Regions from separate parts of the Homo sapiens genome. Here all the other regions are linked to region 3. Evidence: promoter capture Hi-C in 16 types of primary human blood cells and fetal thymus (Javierre and others, 2016). All regions are on one chromosome and are shown on one strand. Each heading gives the region's core, a stretch centred on a gene start or on the middle of the fragment in contact. The rest is flanking DNA. Distances are from core to core; before and after follow the strand shown. Region 1 holds the start of MAT2B (methionine adenosyltransferase 2 non-catalytic beta subunit). Region 2 holds the start of HNRNPA0 (heterogeneous nuclear ribonucleoprotein A0). Region 3 holds the start of G3BP1 (G3BP stress granule assembly factor 1). Region 4 holds the start of NUDCD2 (NudC domain containing 2).

Region 1 (6,784 bases), core at 3,090-5,589, about 12 Mb before region 3:
AAAGATAGTATAAAGGTAAATTCTTAGGATTATTTTTCCTTAGTTCAACCAATTTCAAGACATTTTAAAAGTTGAAAGCAATTTCATTCAGGCTGTGTTGCAAAACTTGGCTCTAAACCAACTGATCTATGAAAACAAGGATTTCAGCCAACAAAATATTTTCTTTGAAATTTGGCAAGAAAACAGCTCTACAAAGATTGAACTGTAAAGAGGAGAAAACATGCCAAGTCTAGTACAGATACAGTCAGAGAAAACAATTTACACAGGATAAATACGGTAAAGATTCCTGAAAAAATACTCTAAAAGAGAGATAATTTGGTTTCTTCTGAGTTCCTCACTTTTTACTTCACTCTACGGAAGCAAAGGAACAGGTAACAGTTCCTAAGGTCAGTGGTTCTCGTGCTTCAGTGTGGATCAGAATCACCTGGAGGGCTTTTAGATCACAAAGGTCTGGGGTGGGGCTTGATAATTTGCATTCCCAACAAGTTCCAACAAGTGATGCTGATCATCGTGATTTGGAGACCGCACTTAGAGGACCAGTGTACTCTCGAACTCCAGGAAAGTTCAAAGCTTTCATAACAATCCGTTTCTCTTACACAAGGAAAACAAAAAGTGCCATCTACCTTTCTCAAAATGACAACAGTATCTTTCCCCCTTAAAAAAGAAAACTTGAAATAGAAGCCAAAGCATTATACAATCCACAAAAGTTACTAAACAATGAATTAAGATCTGTGTACTTCACTGACTCTGTGAAGTACAGTTTCATTTTAACATCTGTTAAATGAATTTAAAAAAAATCTTATGAATCGTCACAGTTTTGCAGTAGTTTTTGCTAACTTAATGCAACTTAAGAGCCCAGATGATCTTCTTTTAATTAAGAGCTTCTTGGAGTTGATGCAGTATTAAGTATAGAGAAGAACAAGGCTCTTTAGGGAATATAATACCTTAACGTAAAAAAGGAAGTGGAGTTGTATGAGAAAATGCAACTTTATATCCTTATACCCCTGGGTTACTATGTAAGGCCTCCAGTACGCCCGGCCTATAACATGTTAATTTTCAAATAAAATGTTGTGCAGTATCATTTCCATTTCAGTAAATGCTTGCACTTCAGATCGTCACTCTTAATAAAAATCTTGAGCACTGACACCTGACTGCTGGGTACTGTACACTGTTTCATATTTTTTTCTAGGTAATTTTAGGTAATCTAAGCTACTCGGGAGGCTGAGGCAGGAGAATCGCTCGAACCCAGGAGGCGGAGGTCGTAGTGAGCCGAGATCGCACAACTGCACTCCAGCCTGGGGGACACGAGCTAGACTTCATCTCAAAAAAACAAACAAACAAAAAAACCAAAAAAAAGAAAACTAACGTGTTATATAAGTATACAATCATAGCTGTTTTTGTTTTTTTAATAGCAGTTTGAGGCCGGGTGCCAGGGCTCACGCCTGTAATCCCAGCACTTTGGGAGGCCAAGGTGGACCAACCACTTGAGGTCAGGGGTTCAAAACCAGCCTGGCCAACATGGTGAAACGCTGTCTCTACCAAAAATAGAAAAACTAGTCGGGCATGGTGGTGGGCGCCTATAATCTCAGCTACTTGGGAGGCTGAGGCAGGAGAATCGCTTGAACCCTGGAGGCAGAGGTTGCAGTGAGCAGAGATTGAGCCACTGCACTTCAGACGGGGTGAAAGAGCAAGAGGAAAAAAAAGAAAACAAAAAAACCCAGCAGCTTGTTAGAAGAGATATTATTTCCAAAGAGAGTAACAAGAAGTCCAGTGTTAAATGTTTTGTCTATAGTAAAAGAGAAAAAGCTGGAACCAGAACCTGAGTCTTGCTTCTCTGGTCAAGTCAAATACACTGCATTTTGTCTCAATCCTGTGAACTAATATTTGGTTTCATGAATGATTAAAGTTTTATCTGTTCTGCCACAAATTGGTGTTTAGAAGTTATTCTATCTCTATTGATCTAATTCCTCATTGGTAAATGGGGAAGGCATTTAGACAAAATGACTAAGGCTCTTTCAGCTTTAAAGTTCTATATTTCTAACATTTTCCATATTATCCCTACCACGAGGAGTCCGAATAGTTTCGTTTACTTAAATAAGGTAACTTTTCCTCTGAATATGCATTACTCCGAAATTTAAAATATGCCAAACAAATATCTCTGTTTTTGAGCTTCTATATAAGCAATACTCTGCCTTTTACACTGTTTTGTTGAGGCTTTTTGGTTCGTTCTTTAGAAAAAGAAATATCCCTCTAAAAACTACTTTGGACCTGCACTCCATAAATTATTTTAGTTGTGCACAAGGAAGAAATGTCTAAACACTTTAAGAAAGTCAGAATGAAAGAATAAAATGCTATCTAGTTCACTCAAGGCACAATAAAGAGTTGATAATACTTTGCCTGAAGTCTACTTTTTCTCAATTTTTATTATATGGGGGAAAGTAGATCTAATATCAGTTTAAGTTACTCTAAACGTATCTGCCTCTTATTGTCTAAACTCTGAAGTACGGAATTCAATCACTCCAAGGGACCAGATTTATGGACACCAAAAAAACATTTCTTGAAAAATTAAGTACATATAAATAAATATTCTTATTATCGTATCTAATCGAATGATACCAAATTGTATAGGTAATGGGAGATACATGGCTCCTTCCAAATGGTCCAACACAGTACTCTGGGACAGTGATTTCTACTTTAGCACACCTGCATTAATGTCTACTAAAAATGTTCTAGAAAAGTAAAGAATGGAATACTATTAGTATGTGGTTTTCCCAAATTTCAGTGGTAAATACCTTGTCGTTTTTGGAAACTTTAAAACTTGGCACAGTTCCATGTTTAATTTTTTAATTCCCCAGAAACAGACCCTTAAGGTAAACATTACTGGGCTTTACTTTTTAAGATTCTCTGACTACTTAGGTGGGATTGGTCTAACTTCTACTGCGACGCTACTGTGCTCCACAGACAGTATTACTAACAACAACCACTCCAGGATGCTTCTCTAACGTTAACTATGAGACAGTTCTCGTTCTCATGAGTCAGTAAGCTTTAATTCTACAGGTTTTGAGAGCAGTAAGTCTGTGCCAAGCTCTTCGTTGTTTCATTTTTAATGAAGGAAAACACGAAAAGCTATTTTCATTTTTATACTGAACTTCTTTTTGTGAAAGTAGATTAAGCTTTATATGCACACGTACACATACAAATGCATACATATAAATGTAAACGTATGTAACATGCACTCAGCACGGTCTGGAGGACCTAGGAACATAGAGGTTTAATAGACCATTTATCCTAACTTTACCCTCAAAGAACCAAAGTGATTTGAAAACCCTAAGTAAATTTGGAAGCATGAAAACTTTGCAATAACAGAAACAGCCATCTCCTATATTCTCTACTCTCTCCAAAAGACATGGTCTGGGCATTAGTAGTGTTCTTATCCCCAGGGTTGGATATGTTCTGTGGACAGATTAATGCTGGAGGCCCTTAAGTGGAATGGAGCAGGATGGGACGGGGGCGAGGGGGGCACCAGAGATGGATCTTCCAATCATCACCATAATCTTCCTTCAGGGAAACTCCGTAGTGGTTCAAAGCCCAAGACAGTCACACAAACCTGTATCTGAATTCCAGGCTCCAACCTTACGGAATGAACCTGGGCCAATGTCTCACCCTCTATGCCCGTTTTCTCGTCTACAAAATGAGGCAATAACAAGTATCTCACAGTGGAGGATTAAAGTAATGCCCGTCAAGTGCATAACATAGTGCTGAGAACTTAAGAGTTCAATAAGTTGTCATCTCCAGCACTGTTATTTGTGAGAAGTCACCTTTTCCTGTTCTTTCTCAAACCTACGAACTTGTAAGATCGAGAAATACGAACCAAAGATGAATAAACGGGGAAAACCAAAATCAAAACAAACAATTCTGAAAAACCTCTTCGTCCTCAGGAGCAGAGACAGAACTCGAAAGTAAAACCTCCACCTACTTGCTTCCTGCCGCAGTGGCTGGAAGAAAAAAACACTGACCCGTGTGCGCTGAGATAAACAAACTCGGTGGCGCCCCCCTCGGATCCGGGGCTGGGAGGGTGGCGGTGAGACCACTCCCGGCCGGAGGCTCTGACCCGGGCGGAATACGCCTGCAAAGCCGCCCGAGCCCCGGTGGCTCGTCCCCCTCGGCGCCCCCGCTCCCACCGGAGACGCCCAGGCCGACTCCCTCACCTCCACCAGCCGACAGCTCCCGGGAACAAAGTGTATAGAGAGCTCTTTCTCCCGCCCCACCATGCCCGCCGTCTTCACGCCGCAGCCTCAGCGGCCGCCACCTCCTCCAACCCAGGATCGACGCGGGCCTCAGCTCAGACGCCCTCGGCCCGCCTCCCCTAGGCCCAGAACGACCCCGCTCGCCGCTTCCGGCTTCCGCTGCCATAGCCGCGCCCGTTGATTGGCCACGCTCCGCCGACGCCCCAGAAAGAGGGCGGGTACGCGCGGTCTGCCCCCAGCCCACGCGCCGATGCTTAAAGCGACACACAAAAGAAAGGCCCTGACCTTAGGCAGTGAATTCAGGTTTTGTTTCGGAGATTTTATTTGAGTGCTTTTTATTCTACTTTTTTTCCTTTTTTTCTTGACTCGGGAAAAGATTGAAGTGGATCGCCTTGAGTTTCAAGTTTGCAGACTGCGCAGTGCATGAGGATCGACTGAGCAATATAAAAAGTGGAATAAAAAGCATTTTAAAGTCATGGGGGCGGGGGCGGAGGTGGGTAGAGCATAATGGACACATCTCTAGAGCTCTAGGTGGGGGTTTTGAAAGATTTAGAAAAAGACAAGGAATAAAAATAAAAGGGTTGGCGTCTGAGCCATTTGTCTTCCTGGGATGCTTAAAAAAAGAAAAAACCTGTGTGTGAGATATCAAAAATGTAAAACTATTTTTAACTAATTAAAAATAAAAAGTTGTAGGGGGAAGGAAGATGAACTACTTAGGTACCTCTTCAAAACGCAGATCCTTGGACTTTACCCATAATTACAGAACAAGAAACGAGCCCGGGGTCCGACTTCTTAATGGGTTTAACCAGAATCAAGCCCACTCTTTAAGAAACACCGCCTCGGGGATTGCAGGATTGGGCCACACGAGCCCAGCCTTGGTGAGCACCGAGAATTTAAGCAGCAGCGTGTAAGGCTGGGCGTTCTACCACCTTTTAAAAGTTAAGCAGCCCTAAGTGCTGATGCCGACTTATTTCCCTTCCAGTTAAAAACCGCAAAAAATCCTCAGCCAGGCTGGACGCCTGTGAAATTGATGCAGAAAGTAAACCCTGGCACAGGCCGTGTAGGATTTGCCAACTTTGCACCGAACAGTCCAAGGGTTCTTGTGTGCCCAGGATAGCAAGCTCTAAACGTCGTCCACAAACGTGACCACTGTCTGGATTTTCCTAGGGCCTTTCCCCGACTCCTAAACCTTTTTGGTTTATTTTCAAACTAAAGACTAAGCAGCCTTTTAAAGAAGTTTTCCACGTCAGAACACCATGACTTTCCTTCCTCCTCAACCCCCAACAAAAACTCATTTCCTTATTCGTGTAAACATAAAGTTTCTCTAGAACAGTAATCGAAGACAGCCTGAGGTTTCTTATGTTCCGATTTTTTTTTTTTTTAAACACAGGCTATTACTGTTCATTAGTTTGGCTTTATTTAGGGAATCCTTGAGGACTGCCCCAGCGCTAAACAAGCATAATCAGGGGACAACAAAGAAGAGGGCGGGAAGAGGGCCGGGGGAGCAGCCAAGATCATCTTACTACTTTTTCTCTTAACTGGGAATTCGGTTTAAAGTTTCTAGTCGCAACACGTGATGTAATCTTACCTTTCTATGGGAGAAAAGAAAATTAATTCTTCATTCTTCAACGTGAAGCAGGTTTAAGGGCAAGCATATGCAATTAGCATTCTGATTCTCAGAGCAGCCTAGTCTTGAGGAACAGAAAGAATTTAACTTGGCTGCTTTTGAAAATCTGACTTGATACTTTCCCCGTAAAAGTTGGGTACAGTTCTAGGGGCATATGTTTGGATATGGTTTTTAATCATTTTCTTTAATGATGGTAGGGTCTATGCGAATCAAACGCCATTCTTAACATAGACAATATACAACTTCGTGTGGTGGCTAAGTCTATACATTTAAAGAGAGCAGCCTGAAACTAAAAGTTATGTTAGCAGATTCAATTCATACAAAGACAAAGAACATCTGGAAAGGAACACACTACAGATAAAATCCTTATTTATGTAGAAACTTTATATACATAATTGCATTTAAAATGGTAAATGAAAGTGCAATTCTGTATTGTCAGCTAGTGAGACTTAGCTGAGCCCTTCATAACCTGGTTCTCCGGGTCAGTAACTAAAGTTGGCTTATTCTTCCATGTCCCGAGGTTATGTTTTAAGGAAATGAATGACACCCGTTTCTATTTTCTTTACACAACAATTCTGGTTTTAGCAGGCGTTCACTGGAATGCTTTTAAAGCATCTCTTACTCTAGAATGCTTCATTTCTTGAATTGCTAGTTCTTACCTGCTCCATGTCCTCTGGCATTTCAGGCATGACTCCAGAATTATTTCAGGAGAGCAGATACGGGATGGGTCTTAGCCTCTGCCTTCTCTTGCTGGGTCTTTGTTCGCTTCTGCCTGCAGAGAGCGCAGGCACGCCAAAACGTGAGGAGCAGCTTCACTTGACCTTTTAAATTAGCATTTTGATTCCAATCCCGGAATCTCGTGCAGTTCTCCACATGGCAGTAAGCTGGTAGCTGATTCCCCGTAGTAGTC
Region 2 (6,664 bases), core at 264-2,763, about 14 Mb after region 3:
AGTCCCAGCTACTTGGGAGGCTGAGGCAGGAGAATCGCTTGAACCCGGGAGGTGGAGGTTGCAGTGAACCAAGATCGTGCCATTGCATTCCAGCTTAGGCAAGACTCCGTCTCAAAAAAAAAAAAAAAAAAGCAAAGTTAACATTCTAGGCCAGGCGCGGTGGCTCACGCCTGTAACCCAGCACTTTGGGAGGCCGAGGCAGATGGATCACCTAAGGTCAGGAGTTTGAGACCAGTCTGACCAACATGGTGAAACCCCATCTCTGCTAAAATACAAAAATTAGCCGGGTGTGGTGGTGGGCGCCTGTAATCTCAGCTACTCAGGAGGCTGAGGCAGGAGAACAGCTTGAACCCAGGAGGCGGAGGTTGCTGAGCCGAGATTGCGCCAGTGCACTACAGCCTGGGCAACAAGAGTGAAACTCCATCTCAACAACAACAAAAAAGCTAACATTCTAGTTCAAAGAAAGCAACACATAGATGATGTAAATTACACATAAAAAACCATTCACTGAGGTTAAATGAAAATGTCTGCTGGAGTGTGCCAAGGGGACCTGAAAGGGCCTCCTCTGAGAGGGCATCGTGGGAGGGCTTCAAGGAGGGCGGGAGGGTGGCAGGGAGGCAGGGATGTCGCGCCTCGTCTGGTTCCTAATGTCTGAAGTTCTTTTGGTTCCCTGTTGTCTTTCACACCGCCGCCTCGGGCTCGCTTTTGCGCAGGGCCACGTGGCAAAGTTTTAGTTTAACCGCACGTCGGGCCCACTGTAAACGGTTAATAACCGCCTTCGTGGACCAGGCCTCTGCCCTCCATCTTTGTGCGGGCGGGAGGTGGGGCGGGGACGCCAGGTGTAGCGGACAAGCGGAGAGGCGGCGGGTAGATCCGGGCCCCCAACCCCAACAGTCAAGTTTTCAAAAAGCCCGCGCGTGGCGCCCCAGACCGCATCCGTTGGGAATGGCCCCCAGCGCGCCCCCTGCTCTCTCCCCGGCAAAGCCCTGGGCGGGAGAAGGCGCGGGGGTGGTAGGCCGGCTCTGCACGCCGGGGGCGCCGGGGCAAGCGCGCACCGGGGAGCGCGCCCGTCCAACAGCTGCCGAAAACGGAAGTGGGTGCGAGGGGATCACGGTGATTGGCTGAACTCAGATGTCTCTCAAGGGGCTGGCGCGAACGCCACTGCGGAGTTGGGCGAGGGGATGAGTAAAGGGGAGGGGGAGAAACACTGGGAACAGCCGCGGTGCTAGGAGGAAATGAATCGCGGTGGTGCGCGGAGGGCAGGGAGGGACCCATGTCAAGGGACAGTGGGGCGCTCGGGAATGAAAGTGGGCTGGCAGAAGCGGAAGCGGGAGCGGCACAGGCCGCGGGCTTGAATAGACCGCGGAGGGCGGGGAGTCCGTGATCTAGAGCGGCGCTGCGGCGCGGTAGGCGGGATTAAGGGGAGCGAGGCGGGGATTGGCTGGTAGCCCTAGGCTGCCGTACGTCGGCGGTGACGCACGCCTCGGGGAGGGTGCGCGCGCGTTCAGCGGCCTCTTTGTGTGGTGCCCAGATAGGGGAGCGGAGGTGGCGGCGGCGGCGGTAGCGGTGGCCTTGGTTGTCTTCCAGTCTCCTCGGCTCGCCCTTTAGCCGGCACCGCTCCCCTTCCCTCCCCCTTCCTCTCTTCCTTCCTTCCCTCCCCTTCCCTTTTTCCCTTCCCCGTCGGTGAGCGGCGGGGGTGGCTCCAGCAACGGCTGGGCCCAAGCTGTGTAGAGGCCTTAACCAACGATAACGGCGGCGACGGCGAAACCTCGGAGCTCGCAGGGCGGGGGCAAGGCCCGGGCCTTGGAGATGGAGAATTCTCAGTTGTGTAAGCTGTTCATCGGCGGCCTCAATGTGCAGACGAGTGAGTCGGGCCTGCGCGGCCACTTTGAGGCCTTTGGGACTCTGACGGACTGCGTGGTGGTGGTGAATCCCCAGACCAAGCGCTCCCGTTGCTTTGGCTTCGTGACCTACTCCAATGTGGAGGAGGCGGACGCCGCCATGGCCGCCTCGCCCCATGCCGTGGACGGCAACACTGTGGAGCTGAAGCGGGCGGTGTCCCGGGAGGATTCGGCGCGGCCCGGTGCCCACGCCAAGGTTAAGAAGCTCTTTGTCGGAGGCCTTAAAGGAGACGTGGCTGAGGGCGACCTGATCGAGCACTTCTCGCAGTTTGGCACCGTGGAAAAGGCCGAGATTATTGCCGACAAGCAGTCCGGCAAGAAGCGTGGATTCGGCTTCGTGTATTTCCAGAATCACGACGCGGCAGACAAGGCCGCGGTGGTCAAGTTCCATCCGATTCAGGGCCATCGCGTGGAGGTGAAGAAAGCAGTCCCCAAGGAGGATATCTACTCCGGTGGGGGTGGAGGCGGCTCCCGATCCTCCCGGGGCGGCCGAGGCGGCCGGGGGCGCGGCGGTGGTCGAGACCAGAACGGCCTTTCCAAGGGCGGCGGCGGCGGTTACAACAGCTACGGTGGTTACGGCGGCGGCGGAGGCGGCGGCTACAATGCCTACGGAGGCGGCGGCGGCGGTTCGTCCTACGGTGGGAGCGACTACGGTAACGGCTTCGGCGGCTTCGGCAGCTACAGCCAGCATCAGTCCTCCTATGGGCCCATGAAGAGCGGCGGCGGCGGCGGCGGTGGAGGCAGTAGCTGGGGCGGTCGCAGTAATAGTGGACCTTACAGAGGCGGCTATGGCGGTGGGGGTGGCTATGGAGGCAGCTCCTTCTAAAAGAAAATTTAAAATGCCTGGGAGTGGCTATAGGGGTAGCTCTTTCCAACAGCCCAAGTGGGGTCAACTCCTAAGCCCCACCCCCTCACACACACCGCCTTCCCTGTTTTGCCCTTGGGGGAGCCACTTCTAAGGCTGCTTACCCTTGGGGGTGTTCCTCTATTTGCCTGCCACCTCTCTTGTCTCTCCCTCTGAAGATGGACTCGGCCCCACATACACATTTTTGTGTTACAGTCATTGATGGACTCTATTTTTTTATTATTACTTGGACCTTGGTCGTTTTTATACTAGCAAAATGTCTTGTTTTAATTTGTGTTTTTTGGGGGGAGGGAGGGAGTGAACTTGCTGATTCTGTAGCAAAACCTGGGTGGGGGTTGGGGTGGGGGGTAGTTTACTTTGTTGTAAGGACTTGATAACCTGGCTACAGCGTTTTCTATGAAATCTACTTGGATCCCATGCCTGAAATTTGGAAGCATATGTACAAAAATCATTTTTACGTTTTATTTTTAATAAATCATTGTGTTTGACCGTACATGTCTAACATTTTTTTTCTAGGATCCATTCCGTACCGTTTTTTAAGGGATATTTGTTTAAGACTTTACGTGTTAATTCTTTATTCTTGATGTGTACTTAGAGAAACTTAAGAGGTCCTGTGGTTTTTTTCCCCTCTCCTGTTGCCCTGCTAGTTGCGTGTTGAATTATATCCCTTACAGGCAAAACTTTTGAAGTGGTGGATGTGGCTTTTTAAACTCTTAAGTTTCTGTGCATCCATCTCTTGTACTAAGCGAATTGTTTATCATCTTGACATGGTTGGTCATTTCTATGACAATTTACTTCAAACTGTGTACTGTGTAGTTCTATATAGTTTGTGTTAAGCATGTCATTCATATAAACTGTTTAAAATTTTTCAGATGGCCTAGTTTCATCCCTCTTACTGGTTTGTCTGTAATGAATGGTTAAAAATAAGGGTTATATTTTACCCTCAAATGCGTTTTTGTACTTTCAGAGCAGGTTTAAACGTTTTTTTTTTTTTTTTCCTATATCCGAACTGTTGGCCTCATGGAAATCCCTTTCCCGATCTTTGTAGCACCATCTACTGGCAGAATGGCAGAGTAGCTGCGAAACAATTTGTTTAAAAACTTGCTTAAGACAATTGCATCAGATTTGGAAGTTTTGCCATCAAAATTCTTTGCAGAATTGGAAGTTAACACATTTGCTTGTAACTGAGATGGGCTTCACAGGAATGTAGTTGCCAGTTCATATCACAATAGCCCTTTCTATATGAGGTTTGAAAATGTAAACTGCTATGCATAGCTTGGGCAATAGCCCTAAATTGCTATGACAACTAATGAACCAGCTACGTATACTGGTATTTTAGGTGCAAGTTGTAAAGCAAAATATCTGTGTATTCTGCTTGGTTAACAAATGTATATTTGTAGCCCTTTCCTGCAATAGCATTCAAGTTGTTGTTTATAAGAGAAGAACAAAAGTGATAATAGGTGAAAATTGCCTTTCTGGATAGAAATAGAGAATAGCAACGTTTATGGATATCACAAATAAAGAATTCAATTCTTTACATGATTGAGTGAGAGTATGTATAACCTGGTGGGTGGGTTCAGAGTACCTTTTAATCTAGTATGCTTAACTTGATGTTAATATTTAACTTAAATATTTGACTTACATGTTGACGTTGAAGGCTCAAAGCTATACTAAGAAGCTTTCTGAAAGATTGGGCTTTAAAATAAAATAATATTTTAATATTGAACCATTTTTTAACTTCTTGTCACTGTTCAATTCCTAAGGTCTAGTTCTTGCCAGTTTTTTTTTTTTTTTTCCTGATTGGCAGGGCTTTTAAAGAAGTAAGAAGAAAGGTTAAGATTATTAGGCTAGGTTATAGCTGCTCAGTAGTCATTTTGACAAAGGGTAGCGGATGGTTGGTACAAATAGTGTTATATCCTCTATGACAAACGGGGTGGATGTTTTTACACATTGAGGTAATACATAGTCAAATCCTTTGCTCTCAAATAGTTGTACACTTTCCATACATTTCTGTCTTATTTTTTAATTCTAGTGATACACAAATTACATGTGGGCTACTTCATTTGGTAATTTGGTCCAGCTTTTTGGTGGCTGTAGAGTGGCCTCTAGGATACAGAAAATGATTCTCTGAAATTTTTCGTTGTAATTGTTAAATACTACTCTGCTTGACTTACTCAGTTTTGGTGGGAAGATCTGGGTCAATTGGAATAGTACACCTTTCTCAGGGTTTTCAGTTTAATAAGGTTGTCATATTATTCCCAACATGGGAATATAGTGGCTTCTAAAGTTTGCAAATGAATTATGTAAAAGGATTTTCTGTGTATTAGGAAGGCAACCTGTTCTGTTCATGGTATATTAACACTTCATTGTCATGTGTCTACCCTTAAAATTGCTATTTGTAGTGAAGAAAAAAGCATAGTGGTATTTAGTCACTTCTGGGTTCCTCTTGTCAGTTTATATGCAAACATTTTGGCATGTGGGACTTGGGGAGGAGGGACAATTGGTTGTATGTTTTGACCACTTCCACCTATGAAAATTATCTGAACATTATTCAGATTTAAGAGTTCATGGGAGCAGGTGGTACAGAACCTAGTGTTGAATATAATTTTTGTGCCATGCTTGAATGTATTTTGACGGATTAGCAAAATAAAAGTGAACCTCCTATTTTTCATCTTAATGTGAAGATCTTTGGCATTTACATTCTTTTAAAAGTATAAATTCAGTAGTCATTAGTTGAAAGTGGTTTGAAAGGCTGTTAGAGATGATACAGGTTGAGTATTCCTTATCTGAAATTCTTGGGCCCAGAAGTGTTTTGAGTTTTAGATTTTTTTCAATTTTTGAATATTTCCATTATGTTTACCAGCTGAGCAGCTCTCATACAAAAATGTAAAATCCAAACTGCTTCAATGAGCATTTCCTTTGAATGTCATGTCTGCACTCAAAAAATTTCGGATTTTGGAGCATTTTAGATTTTTTGATTGGAATATCTGTAGTGTTTTTCAGGTCATTTAAAAAGCTCTCATTGGTACTGATTTACTGTATCCAAAAAAAAGCCTGCAAGTGGTTAAGGTTCACAGTGATAACTATCAAATCAGAATGACTATACTGATTGTACCCATTCATCCATTTTTAACTTAGTGATTTGGAACGTTTCATATTCAAATCTAATTTTCATAATTTTTAAGTAAACCTAAAAGATTGAGGATACTTGAGAAATTTGCATTTATGATTTCCTTCAAAACCAGAAGTGATGGTATCAGTTATTGGATTTGTAAACTTAGTTTACCTTTTAAGTGTGCTTAAGTTTTGAGAGTTTGCATTTTAGGTTAAATTTTGTCTGCCCGCGTCTGCTGATTGCAGATAGGCATTTGGATGTTGGATTTGGAGCAGAACTGCATCTAGACTACACGGATTTTACCCAAAAAGACAGCACTTGCACTTAGGCTAAGTGTCTTTCTCCATCGTAACCAATTTATTGAATCACTTTAAGAGTGATCATTGGGGAAATTTTCCTCCTCAGCCTTATTTTGGCCTTTTGAAACAGCAACAAAGACTGCCTAGTCAAATAACTCCTTAGCTGTCCTGCTTTTGAGTGAACTTCATATTTGCCTTGAATGAGAATTTAAATGTTACAAGGTAAAACATTTATTATAAAAAGATATTTGAAAGCTGCTATTTAAAAAGGAATTCCAAAGTAGGAAGACTAGAAGGGCAATTCTCTATTTTCCACCTATTTTTTTTACTTTGATTTGAAGCCAGATGATTTGAACCTTCAGAGAGGGAAAGGATTCAGGAAGACACCTTTGGTAGTTATTCTTAACTGTTTCCTTCTCTATTCAGGCAGGCTTTCTTTGTCTCTTTAATTCTTTTACCACTTTGTATGGTTTACTTAAAAAAT
Region 3 (6,124 bases), core at 3,184-5,683:
TCTCCTTGAGTGTGAGCTGGACTTGGTGACTAGCATCTAAGGAATAGTATCTAAAGGGGAAAAAAACACTAACCTGACAGATACCACCTGAACCAAATCATCAGGTTAAATTCAACCAGTTATATATTATGGACCCCCAATCTGATGTGATAAGGGTAATTTCTGTGGTATTCTTCCCCCAAAAATCTGTAACTTCAGTCTAATCCTTAACATCAAATCCAAATGAGATCAAGTGTCATGGTCACGAAAGACAAAAGGAAAGACAGAAACTGACACAGATCAGGAGACTACATACAATGTGGCATCTTGGACTGGATCCTAGAACAGAAAAAGGACATTAGTAGAAAAACTAAGGAAATCCAAATAAAGTCTTTCATTAACAGTATTTTATCGATGTTAATTTCTCAGTTCTGTTAAATGTACTTGGATTACATAAGATGTTAACAGTGGATAATGGGTATTCAAGACCTCTCTATTGCAACTCTTCCACAAATCTTACTTTATCTCAAAAATACTGTTTTCCTGAAAGAAAAAAAACTTCAGGAATCAGAATACTTAACAACTATCTTTTATCTTAGTGTATCCCTTCCCCACTCCAAAGTTAAAACCTACTCAGGTTCACAATTTAAAAAAATCTTTGTTCTTTCTCATCACGTGAAAAGATATGTTACAGTTAATACTAATGCTCATCCGCAAAATTCTTAAACAGATCAAGACAGGTGGATACACTCCAGGGAAATCTAGGCAACCTCAGTGCAGAAACAAGGGTGTACTTAAGGCACAGCCTATGGCTTTGCATAAACAGCATATGGGAGAAGCCTGCAAGGGCAGGCAGGTGTCACATTCATACATTCCAGATTCAAAATCCCTCTAAGATTTTTCAATTAAGGAAATAAGCTGGCTATAGTACCCTATTAGGTACCACATGCTTTTCAAAATAGTTTTGACAATTCGGTTTCAGAGCTCCAATTCACTTTTTAGTAAAAGTATGGTAATACCAAAGATGTGTGAAAGCACTCTCTAAATATGCAAAAGGTTACACAAATACATAATGATGCTTTATATAGCCAGTGAAGTTAATAGCCACCAAAGATTACATCCCTACTAAGTAGATGTGTATACCATCCAGGAAGCCAAATTTCTGTCAATCATCTTTAATCTTTACTTTTGATTAAGTACCTAAGATACAACACACATACCAAGAACTTATTACATGACAGACTGGCCACCTGACAGAAGAGGGACTCTATCACAAAGTCGCCTAAAGACCTTATTTACTAAGCTACAGGCTGTGAGGGCAATTTTTTTGAAATTGCTTTCCACCTTGTAAGACAGAATATTAAGACACTATTCGTGTGTGTGAATTATTCCTACTCTTAACCCTATCACCTGGCTTGCAACTTGACCTTCCCAACTAAAGACAGACAGGATGTCCAAGAATACTTTTTTAAAAAAAGTAAATAGCTGATTTCTGAGATATAAAATTATAAACCTAGTGTGCCACCACATTGTGATCACCAACTACATGTAAGATAATAGTTGCTGAATCTAAATTCAACTCCAGGGCTTGTACTGGAGTACTGGAAGGGCAGTACTGCACTACCAGAGATTTTTCCCACTTGCTTTTGACAAATTACTGGGGGGCGGGCGAGGCTTTCCTTTTTTTTTTTGACCTACCTACTTCCACAATTATCCATTCTTCTTTGTAAAGTCAGTAATAGTTTCGTCCAAGGAAGCCAAAGCACAATATAATTAAACAAACATACAATGCCTATTTAAATTCTGAAAGTTAAAAAAAAAATCAATTTGCAAAATGTTAAAAGACCAAGTGGGCAGTTTTATCAGACTGACAAAAATAAAGAAAAAAAATATAAAATTGGCTTTAGTCACAAATGTAAGCTTTATGTTAAATTTTATCTTTTAACACTAGCCCCATCAGTCCTAAGGACGATATAAAATTCACAAACTTTTACAAAAACTTAAAACTGCCTTCTGCCGTTCACTTTCTATGCAAAATACTAGAACGAGTGGGAAAAAAAAAAACCATAAGTTACAAAAGAAAAACTGCTCTAAGTAGGTCACAAACAAACATTACCAAAATCTCCTAATGTTCCCCTGGTGCAGTGTCAGCTCAGGAACAGCAAACTGAGTTAAACAAAGAACTGTCTACTTTTCTACCTGTAAGAGGTACAAAAGCTTAGACTTTTGTACCGGTAAGCAGCTCCAACAAAACTGACGTATGACTTGGTAGGGATGTAGGGCAGCCTTGCCAAGCCTTACATTACCACAATTTGCTTCAATTCACTTGTTCCTGATAAATGCACAAGTAATCAGTTAGAGCACCAGTTTGTGAAATAATCACGTAATTTTCATGTTCCTGCCCAAGTGATAACCATTTGCCTGAGGCCAAGAACTGTATTTTTTTAATATTTTAAGTAGAAACTAACGAAATTTTCCCTCAATAATGTGTAAGGTAATTTCATTCTATTTTGCCTCAAGCAGTAATAAAATTAGCTGGACTCAAGCTTAAACAGTTTAAATGTAGGTCATTCTAGTGTTTTTCCATTTGACAACTTAAATTGCTCAACTTTAAGTCTAAGTTAAAATGCTAATTCCATAGTTAACCAGTCTGTAAGGGCAAGTAACCGGAATCGCCACACCAGCAAAGTTCCAAGTAAATGTTACTTGGAACATTATTATAATACTGTTATAGAAACATGTTTATAGAAAGGGTTTCCAGAACACGATTATAGAAATCTTTATGTTTATAGAAGTGTTTCTATAACATAGAAGATTTATTTCACTAAGCCAAGGAGTATGTTGGCTTTTAAATAATCTAAAAGATGGTAACTACTAGAAAAATATAAGCTCCAGTCCCTGAAGAAAAGCATCTTGTTTCTGCATATACACAAGAACCCAGCAGAGTAAATGCTAAATAAACGGAGTGTACACAAACTTTCATCCACAGATCTCGACTGTCACAGTTGTTTTTTCCAACACATCTCCAACACCAGTAATTCATCCAGCATGACACGCTCCACAGAGGTCCAAATAGTATACTGTAACTGGGCGCCAACCTTTCTATTCCAATTCCGTATTTTAACCCACAGATGCTAGTGAGATCTTAAATTCGTCGCTTTGCACCTCATTCCCTTCAACTATAAAGTGAATCTTCTCAAGGTCTTTCTGCAAAAGTCTCCTCCAATTAAAAAAAAAGTAGAGAAAAAAAAATTCAACGTCTAAAACCGGAGCCTAACTTCCCGCTGGCGGGAATTTCCCATCAGCAATCTGAGATTCAAACCCGATGAGGAACACAGTCCATGTTCATTTGCACTTACTCATCGTTTTCCCTACTTTTTTCCAGAAGCTACGGTGGCGGCACATCTACCCAGGGCCTGTACAAGTACACGTAGAAAGGAAGCCCAAACCCTTTTCCTTTGTCACATTCCCACTTCCAACCCTTGTCTCCCTGGAAGCCCAGAACTAGCCCAAGTACAAATGCCGCTGCAGCCTTCTCGGCAGGTGGCCTTTTGAGGCTGATGCTGCCCCGAGGGACAAGTGCTCTGGGGGCAAAGACTAAAAACAGGCTTGGGAAGCGGGGAGCTCGGAGTCAGAGGGCCCGGCGTCAACAAATCCCCGCCCTTCCCGTGCGTGCCTGTGACCCCGCTCTCCAAACCCGTGCCTTGGGCCGCTAAGGAAGGAGGATAGCCGTACCCACCTCGCCAGCTCACTGCAAGAATCAAATGAAAGGCAGAAAAGTGGCTCCGCACAGTGCCGGACACACAGTGAGGGCGTGGAAAGAACATTGGTTGTTACTACCACTCCGTGCACTCGCTGCTCCCTCTTTGCTCTCTGCAAAACCGAAGGCGCTTCTGCGACGCGCGGACCGCAAGACTCCAATCAGACTTTAGTGCTGCCCCCACCCTAAACGAAAGCCTCCTTCTGGTCCGAACCGACTGGATCCCTTGGCCAGGGGAGGAAAAGGTGCCGCGGGCGCGTGGCGGAGAGGGTGGCGGGCGGGAAACGCTGGGCGCGGGACCCCTGGCCCCAGAGACCGCCCTGGGGCCCAGGCGGCGGCCGCGGCTTACTCCTGCCCCGCGAGGCCGTTGGACGCAGCACGCGCACGCGGCGGACACGGCCACGCGCCCCAGCCGGGACGGGAGCGGGAGCGAGGAGCCGCCGCGCGCCCGTCCGTCCGCCGCGCGCGCCTGCGGCCGTTGGGGTGGGGGTTGGGGTGGGGGACGCGACTGGCGCGGCCGCCGCGAGCGCCACTCAGACTTCTCCCTCTCACAAGTGCTGCGGCTCGGCTTAGTCCTCTGGCCTCCCTGCCCCGCCCACACCCCGGCGTACCTACGCGGCTGAGCTGGAGAGGAACTAGCTCTGCACCACAGCACCGAGGATAGTACAAACCCCTCACGCAACTGCGTCCGCACACACGCGTGCTCCGCCGCCGGTCTATATAACTGCCACTCACCCTAACTTGTTGCGGCCAGGTCGGGCGACGGGATGACCAATCCCGACCGCGTCCTCAGGGCTCTTCGAACAGTAATTGGGCACTGACTCGGGGATGAAGGCGTGGCTCTTGATTGGCTTTGACTCCTGCCTATGAGACTGTGAGGATCTCGTTTCCCTAGTAACAGATCGGCACTAAGAGAGACCAATAACCGAAAAGTACAATAGAAAGGCGAGTGAGCAGTTCTTTGACTGATACTCAAAGTAGCCAATAAATGTGTGGGGCTGCTCTTATTCGTTAACACGTCTTCCCCTGGGCGGAGATCCGTTTTCCATGCAGGAGCGGTTGCGCCACAAGGTGGGGCCCGTGTACTTTGGGGAAGTAAACCCCTAGCAACTAGGAGGCGGGCGTCCGAGAGGCCAAGACAGCCTGTGGCCAATCGCAACGCCGGAAGGAGCTGATAGACACGGAGGTTGCTCTGCTCGGAAGAGACCGAGCCCCAGGGCCGCCGTGCCCTCTGGGCGGTTGTGAGGCTGTGCAGCCTGCGGCTTCTGCCCTCTTTCTTTCCCTGACTGGTTGGGTCCGGCCTCCGAGGCCTGTACCCCGCCTTTTCCGCATAGGTTTGTACCTGGCGAACCAACTAGTAAAGTTTCCCGGGTTGTTTTCTTTTTATTACAACTTTTTTCTTACGTGCGGCGGCCAAGGGCCTTGCTGCTCTCACCATTACTCAGCACTGCTGCGGGGCAGAGGAAGGAGGGTCGTTCCTGCGCCGCCCGCAGGCTCCCGCCGGAAGGTCGCCGGTGGAAGGCCTGAGAGTGCGCCCTTCCGCCAGGCGCTTCTTGGCGGGCGCTGCGAGGCGGCCGCGGGCGTGTGGCGAGGCTCCCTTTGTGGCAGCTGAGGCACGGTGGTCCGCGCGTGCTCCAGTGGAGTGTGGGCCCTCGCACCACGTCCCGAGCTGCACCACTATTGTTCAGCCTCGAATTGCCGCGGGTGGGGGCTTATTCTCGTCGCTACGCCTTTAAAAGGCAACTCGTCCCCTCCTCCTGGCGTTTCAGGCACTGGCGGGGCTACAACTCAAGGCTGGCCGGCCCTATTTCTATGGAAATAGCTTTGGTTCCCAGCCGTCCGGCACAGACACGCCCCGGTTTGTTCTCGTTCCAGGCATGTGACCAGGGTCTCCCGCGGAGTTTTGCTGAGAATTTTGGAAATGAAGCATGTGGAGCGCCTATGTCGGGGGAGAGAGGCCGAGCTGAAGGAGCACGGGCGCCGGCCTCGGCCTCTGGGGAGCCGGGCCCGCTCGCCTCCCTGCGCGGGGCTAGCCCGAGCCTGGAACTCGGGAGGCCCAGGAGCGAAGTGAAAGCCCCTTCTGGTCCCCCAGGGCTCCACTCCCGCAGCAGCCCGGCTCCGTCGGCGTCAGTGGAGCCCCAGGCCTGGGTCCGAGATGAGCGAGACGCTGCTCTGGCTCGCGGTCGCCCGAGCGCTCCCAAAACCAGGGAACAGGCCCCAGGAGAGAAGCCCCTAGAAGTTTCCTGGAGCAGGGAGTCTCCTGTATCCTGTTAGCTCTGCAAAGGAATCTGGACTTTATTCTGAGGGCCTTGGAGAACCCCTGCAAAGTTTTTTAAAAGGTGGACTAAGAGATTGGCATTTCACAACATGACTCTCCGAATTGAA
Region 4 (4,846 bases), core at 2,347-4,846, about 12 Mb before region 3:
CCCAGTCATTCCCGGAGTTACTCAAGTGTAACCTAGCATTTGCGCAAGCGCACTTCCCTCCGGAGACGTTAGAAAGTGCATTTTGGCGTCACTTAGGGGACGGTGTAGTGAGTTCCGGCTTCACTGGTTCCAATTCTGTCCCATTGTTCGTTGCATGTGAACTTTTCTGGATTTCAGTTCTTTCATCCGGGGCCTGCCGGTGCCGTAAACGGCCATTCAAAGGGAAAAACGAACACGCACACCAAAGCGCTAGCTTGCGTTCCTGCGCATGCGCAGTGACCCGAGCGGAGAGGCCGAGGCGTAGCCTAAGCGTGGGATTCCGCGCGTGCGCTCGGCTCCGCCTGGTGCGGCCGCGGCCGGGAGGGACTGGATTATGTCGGCCCCGTTTGAGGAGCGGAGTGGGGTGGTACCGTGCGGGACCCCGTGGGGCCAGTGGTACCAGACCTTGGAGGAGGTGTTCATTGAAGTTCAGGTGCCGCCAGGCACGCGCGCCCAGGATATCCAGTGCGGCCTCCAGAGCCGGCATGTGGCGCTGTCGGTGGGCGGCCGCGAGATCCTCAAGGTAGCGGCAGCTCGGGGCTTGTGTTCAGTTTCCTCTTCCCAGACGCCCCCAGCCCCGTTTCCCTGAACGACTGTTGGGTGTCCCGACGGCTCCTGTGGCTGGCAGAAAGAGAAAGAGGATAACACTGACCAGGTTTGGGTCTGGTCAGAGCCCCCGCCTCTTCAGGGCAGGTGCTGAGTTGTGGAAATTTGAGGAGCCTATTTTCGTGTTTAGTTTTCAAACTAAGACTGCTGCTTCTGCTTCTCTGACGGGCTTCAGCTGGGAACAGATTAACTAGGTTGCTAAAGGAACAAATATTTCTTCCGTGCACTGAAGACAGGCAGGAAGACAACAGATAACGTACCTGCAGTGGAGAGGTTAAGCTCCTGTACGGAAGCGTAATTCATAAATAGATAAATATAGGAAAGGACAACAAAGAAAATAGGGATAGAATAACGGGCAGAGAATTTAGAGATGATGTCAGGTGATTAGTTTTCTCATCTAAAAGCTTGAAAATCCTGCATGTTTGTGGAGTGGTCAAGCAGGTGGTGAAGAGGTGTGTGCATAAAATAAGTAGTACTCCTTTTATTTCTTTTCACCAATGCTCTTTGGATCTGGACCCGCTTTTTCTTTGTTAAGTGTATAATTAAACTAACAGGTTGAAATTAGATTTAGTTCTCAGGTTAGATGCCCAAGATGTTTGATGGCAGTGTAATATGGTGAAGGGAGACTACTTGTTTCCTAGTTTTGTAAACTTGGGCGAGAGATTGTTCAGTGTCTCTATATCTTCCTTATCCACAAGATAAGGTAGTTATAGTACCCTTCTCATGGGATTGTTTTGAGCTTAACATGGTATTCACGTGTATGAAGAGCTTGGAGTATTCACTGGTATGTAATAAGTTCATACTATATGTTAGCTATTAGCTATTATATATATTACAGTATATGGAGGTGCTTTGAGTGCCTCAAGATTCGTGTGAAAGACATTATGTCAGCTTGGATCTCAGTTACTTTTCTGAATTGTACAATTCATAGTTTCCTCAACAATGGTTTTAGATTACGATTATAAATTAGTAAATCCAGTAACTTTCGGAATTTAGCAGTAGCTGCTGAATTTGGGATTTCTGATGTACGTATAGACCAGTGGGATTTTTTTCTCACTAATTTTGACATATTTTAAAATGTGGGCTTTTCCTAGTGACATTTAATTTCACTTTCTATAACTTAAATTTGGCAACAAATTAAAATGGATTTGAGTTTAGGCATTCTCTCTTTAAAAAAAAATATATATTTATTGAGACAGGGTCCCTGTCTCCCATGCTGGGGTGCAGGGGTGAGATTGTAGCTCACAGCAGCCTCAAACCCATGGGGTCAAGCAATCCACGTTGGCCTCCAAAGTCCTGGGATTACAGGCCTGAGCTACTGGGCCTGGTGCAGTCTCTTTTAAATTTATATTTTGTTTATTTTTTTAAAAAACATGAGTTTGTGAACAGTTAGTCACAACTAATCTATCAAATCTGGAATACGTAAAGTTTTTTTAATGCCGATTGCCCAACAAAAAGATTAAAACGTTTTTAAAAGTTTACTTTAAAAACAACATTTTGCCGGGTGCGGTAGCTCATGCCTGTAATCCTGGCACTTTGGAAGGCCTAGGCGGGCGGATCACAAGGTCAGGAGTTCGAGACCAGCCTGGCTAACACGGGGAAACCCCATCTCTACTAAAAATACAAAAATTAGCCGGGCGTGGTGGCGGGCGCCTGTAGTCCTAGCTACTTGGGAGGTTGAGGCAGGAGAATCGCTTGAACCCTGGAGGTGGAGGTTGCAGTGAGCCAGATCGTGCCACTGCAGCCTGGGCGACAGAGCGAAACTCTGTCTCAAAAAAAAAAAAAAAAAAAAAAAAAAAGACAACATTTTTTAGTTTTAGCAGGAGATCCCTTCTTGTGGTTAATTTAAATTGGTAGAATTAAAGCATTTCAGATATTAATTTCACATTTGGCCAGTGGTCAGTATTACTGTATCTTCTAAAAATTAAGGAGCCCTGATCTTTCTTTAGAGAGCTCTGTGTTCTTTGCCATAGTAAATATCCCTTGCAGTGTAAACTAGTTTCCATTTTACCTGCTGGGAGAAAATTTAGGGTTGTGCACCTATAAATGTCATGGTGAAGTGGTGGTATAAGATGTGGATTAGGTAGGAAAGTAGGTAAATCTTAATCATGAAAACTTTATAAAAATTAAATTCTGTATTTTTAGCACCTTATATGTTTATTTTTCAGGGCAAACTCTTTGATTCTACAATAGCTGATGAGGGAACATGGACTTTGGGTAAGGGTAATTACTATAATTCATCAAATTAAAATAATTTTGTCTTGATATCTTTTCCTCTTTTGTATTAGGTCTTTTTTGTCTTTGCAGCTTTGAAAGATAAAGCAATAGAAATGTGTTGAAAACCGTTGTATGTCAAAGTTACCTAGTGGGGGGAGAAAAAATTAGTTAGTTGTTTTTGGAAATATAAAATTTAATGAAGAACTTCTTGAGACCACCCTGGCCAACATGGCAAAACCCCGTTTATACTAAAAATACAAAAGTTAGCCGGGCATGGTGGCGCATGCCTGTATTCCCAGCTAGTCGGGAGGCTGAGGCAGGAGAATCACTTGAACCCGGGGGGCGGAGGTTTCAGTGAGCCGAGATCAAGCCGCTGCACTCCAGCCTGGGTGAGAGTGATACTGTCTCAAAAAAAAAAAAAACAACTTGATGAAGAACTCTAATTTATTTGTGCGTGTGTGTGTGTGTGTTTTTTTTTTAGAGGACAGAAAAATGGTTCGTATTGTTCTTACAAAGACAAAGAGAGATGCAGCAAATTGTTGGACTTCTCTACTAGAATCTGAATATGCAGCGGATCCTTGGGTGCAAGACCAAATGCAGAGAAAGCTTACATTAGAGAGATTCCAAAAAGAAGTAAGTCAGATGAAGTGTATGAGTATGTGTAATTAAATATATAAAAATCATCAAATAAATATTTGAAATTAAAACTCAAATGTCATTATGAAAAGTTACAAACATTTTCTAGAAGAATTTTTAAAGTGAATTGTTAGAAAAATGGCCTTTCTTGTATGGATTTGATTTTTCGGAAGATTTTCTTGAGAGGAATTTATTTGTATTGCTGTGATTTGTGAGTTTAAGCTTACTTTTATGTACATCAGTAATGCATGAATAAACTCTTACTATAGTTGAATCAATATAGACTTACCTAGTGTAAAAAGTGAAAGGCCCCTTCACCACCATTCTCCCCATTCCATGCATCTATCTCATTTTCATCTCATATGTTGGCTATTGCTTGTTTTGTTTTGTTTTTTAGCATAAATGGAGGATCACACTGTGTGTATTGTTCTTCTTGTTGCTTTTTTATTTAATAATATGCTGTGGGTCTCTTTCCCTACTAATACATAGGTATAAAACTCATTCTTTTTAACTGCTTCAGAGGATTCTGTAGTTTGGATGTGTCATCATTATTTGGCTGTTTGCCTTTGATATGATTTAGATTTCTTCATTTTTCTCTATTTTAAAGAAAGCTGTGCTTTCATCTCTGTGAAACTACTCAAGTGTTCTAAGATATCTTTAAGATAAATATCTAGGAGAGGAATTGCTAGATTGCAGCACTTGATAATGTACGTCTTTATGATAATGATTTCCAGATGTATATCTCTAGCCTAGACTTTTTTTCTGAATTTAGGACCTGCATACCCGGTTGCCTATTCAACATCTCCACCTGGCTATCTAATGTATATTAAGCTCAACATGTCCAAGTTGAACACCCTAACATCCTTCCATATTTGTTTTTACCTGTAGCCTTTTCATCTCAGTTGATGAAAACTAGTAGTTCAGGTCAAAAAAAATTGGGACTCATCTTTGATTCTTACATCTTTCTCATACCCTATCCAATGTATTAGGAAATCTTACTGATGCTACCTTCGAAATATATTTAGAATTTGGCCACTTTTCACCACCAACTCTACCACCATTCTGATCTGGACCACCTCTAATGTCTTGCCTGATTACTCTAATAACGTTCTAATTGGTCTTCTCACTTTTACTCTTGCCATAGTCTTCTCAAAATAGCAGTTAGAGCAGTTCTTTTTTTTTTTTTTTTTCTGAGATGGAGTGGTGCGATCTCTGCTGACTGCAAGCTCCGCCTCCCGGATTCCCGCCAGTCTCCTGCCTCAGCCTCCCGAGTAGCTGGGACTGTAGGCTCCCGCCACCACGCACGGCTAATTTTTTTGTATTTTTAGTAGAGGTGGGGTTTCACCGT

The links. Contacts are between HindIII fragments. The CHiCAGO score rates a contact against its expected background, and 5 or more counts as called.
Region 1: the fragment with the promoter of MAT2B here is called in contact with the fragment with the promoter of G3BP1 in region 3 in 3 of 17 cell types (naive CD4 T cells, naive CD8 T cells and total CD4 T cells); the score reaches 10.6 in naive CD4 T cells.
Region 2: a contact is called between the fragment with the promoter of HNRNPA0 here and the fragment with the promoter of G3BP1 in region 3, in 3 of 17 cell types (total B cells, naive CD8 T cells and fetal thymus). The highest score is 8.3, in total B cells.
Region 4: a contact is called between a fragment that was not itself captured here and the fragment with the promoter of G3BP1 in region 3, in 1 of 17 cell types (fetal thymus). The highest score is 5.5, in fetal thymus.

The regions. Positions count from the first base shown.
Region 1 is chr5:163,503,174-163,509,957 of GRCh38, reverse strand. MAT2B (methionine adenosyltransferase 2 non-catalytic beta subunit) reads right to left here and starts at 4,339. Exons shown (of 7, transcript NM_013283.5): 1 at 4,209-4,339. The coding sequence starts at 4,271. RefSeq lists a silencer at 4,023-4,162 and enhancers at 4,333-4,452, 4,493-4,582, 3,800-4,606, 6,222-6,784. The HindIII fragment of the contact is 7,455 bases long and covers 3,176-6,784 here.
Region 2 is chr5:137,749,212-137,755,875 of GRCh38, reverse strand. HNRNPA0 (heterogeneous nuclear ribonucleoprotein A0) reads left to right here and starts at 1,513. Exons shown (of 1, transcript NM_006805.4): 1 at 1,513-6,664. The coding sequence starts at 1,810. The coding sequence ends at 2,727. RefSeq lists a silencer at 794-1,153 and enhancers at 781-1,472, 1,734-2,083, 2,594-2,753, 2,163-2,854. The HindIII fragment of the contact is 5,253 bases long and covers 1-4,446 here.
Region 3 is chr5:151,770,263-151,776,386 of GRCh38, reverse strand. G3BP1 (G3BP stress granule assembly factor 1) reads right to left here and starts at 4,433. Exons shown (of 12, transcript NM_005754.3): 1 at 4,351-4,433. It overlaps LOC100652758 (a long non-coding RNA gene), which reads left to right and starts at 4,211. Exons shown (of 2, transcript NR_132345.1): 1 at 4,211-4,684; 2 at 5,615-6,124. RefSeq lists silencers at 3,807-3,876, 3,927-4,256 and enhancers at 4,465-4,759, 5,017-5,246, 5,625-6,124. The HindIII fragment of the contact is 14,997 bases long and covers 2,528-6,124 here.
Region 4 is chr5:163,455,578-163,460,423 of GRCh38, reverse strand. NUDCD2 (NudC domain containing 2) reads left to right here and starts at 322. Exons shown (of 4, transcript NM_145266.6): 1 at 322-562; 2 at 2,814-2,862; 3 at 3,344-3,495. The coding sequence starts at 374. It also overlaps a transcript of CCNG1 not described here. RefSeq lists a silencer at 1-25 and an enhancer at 356-605. The HindIII fragment of the contact is 252 bases long and covers 3,471-3,722 here.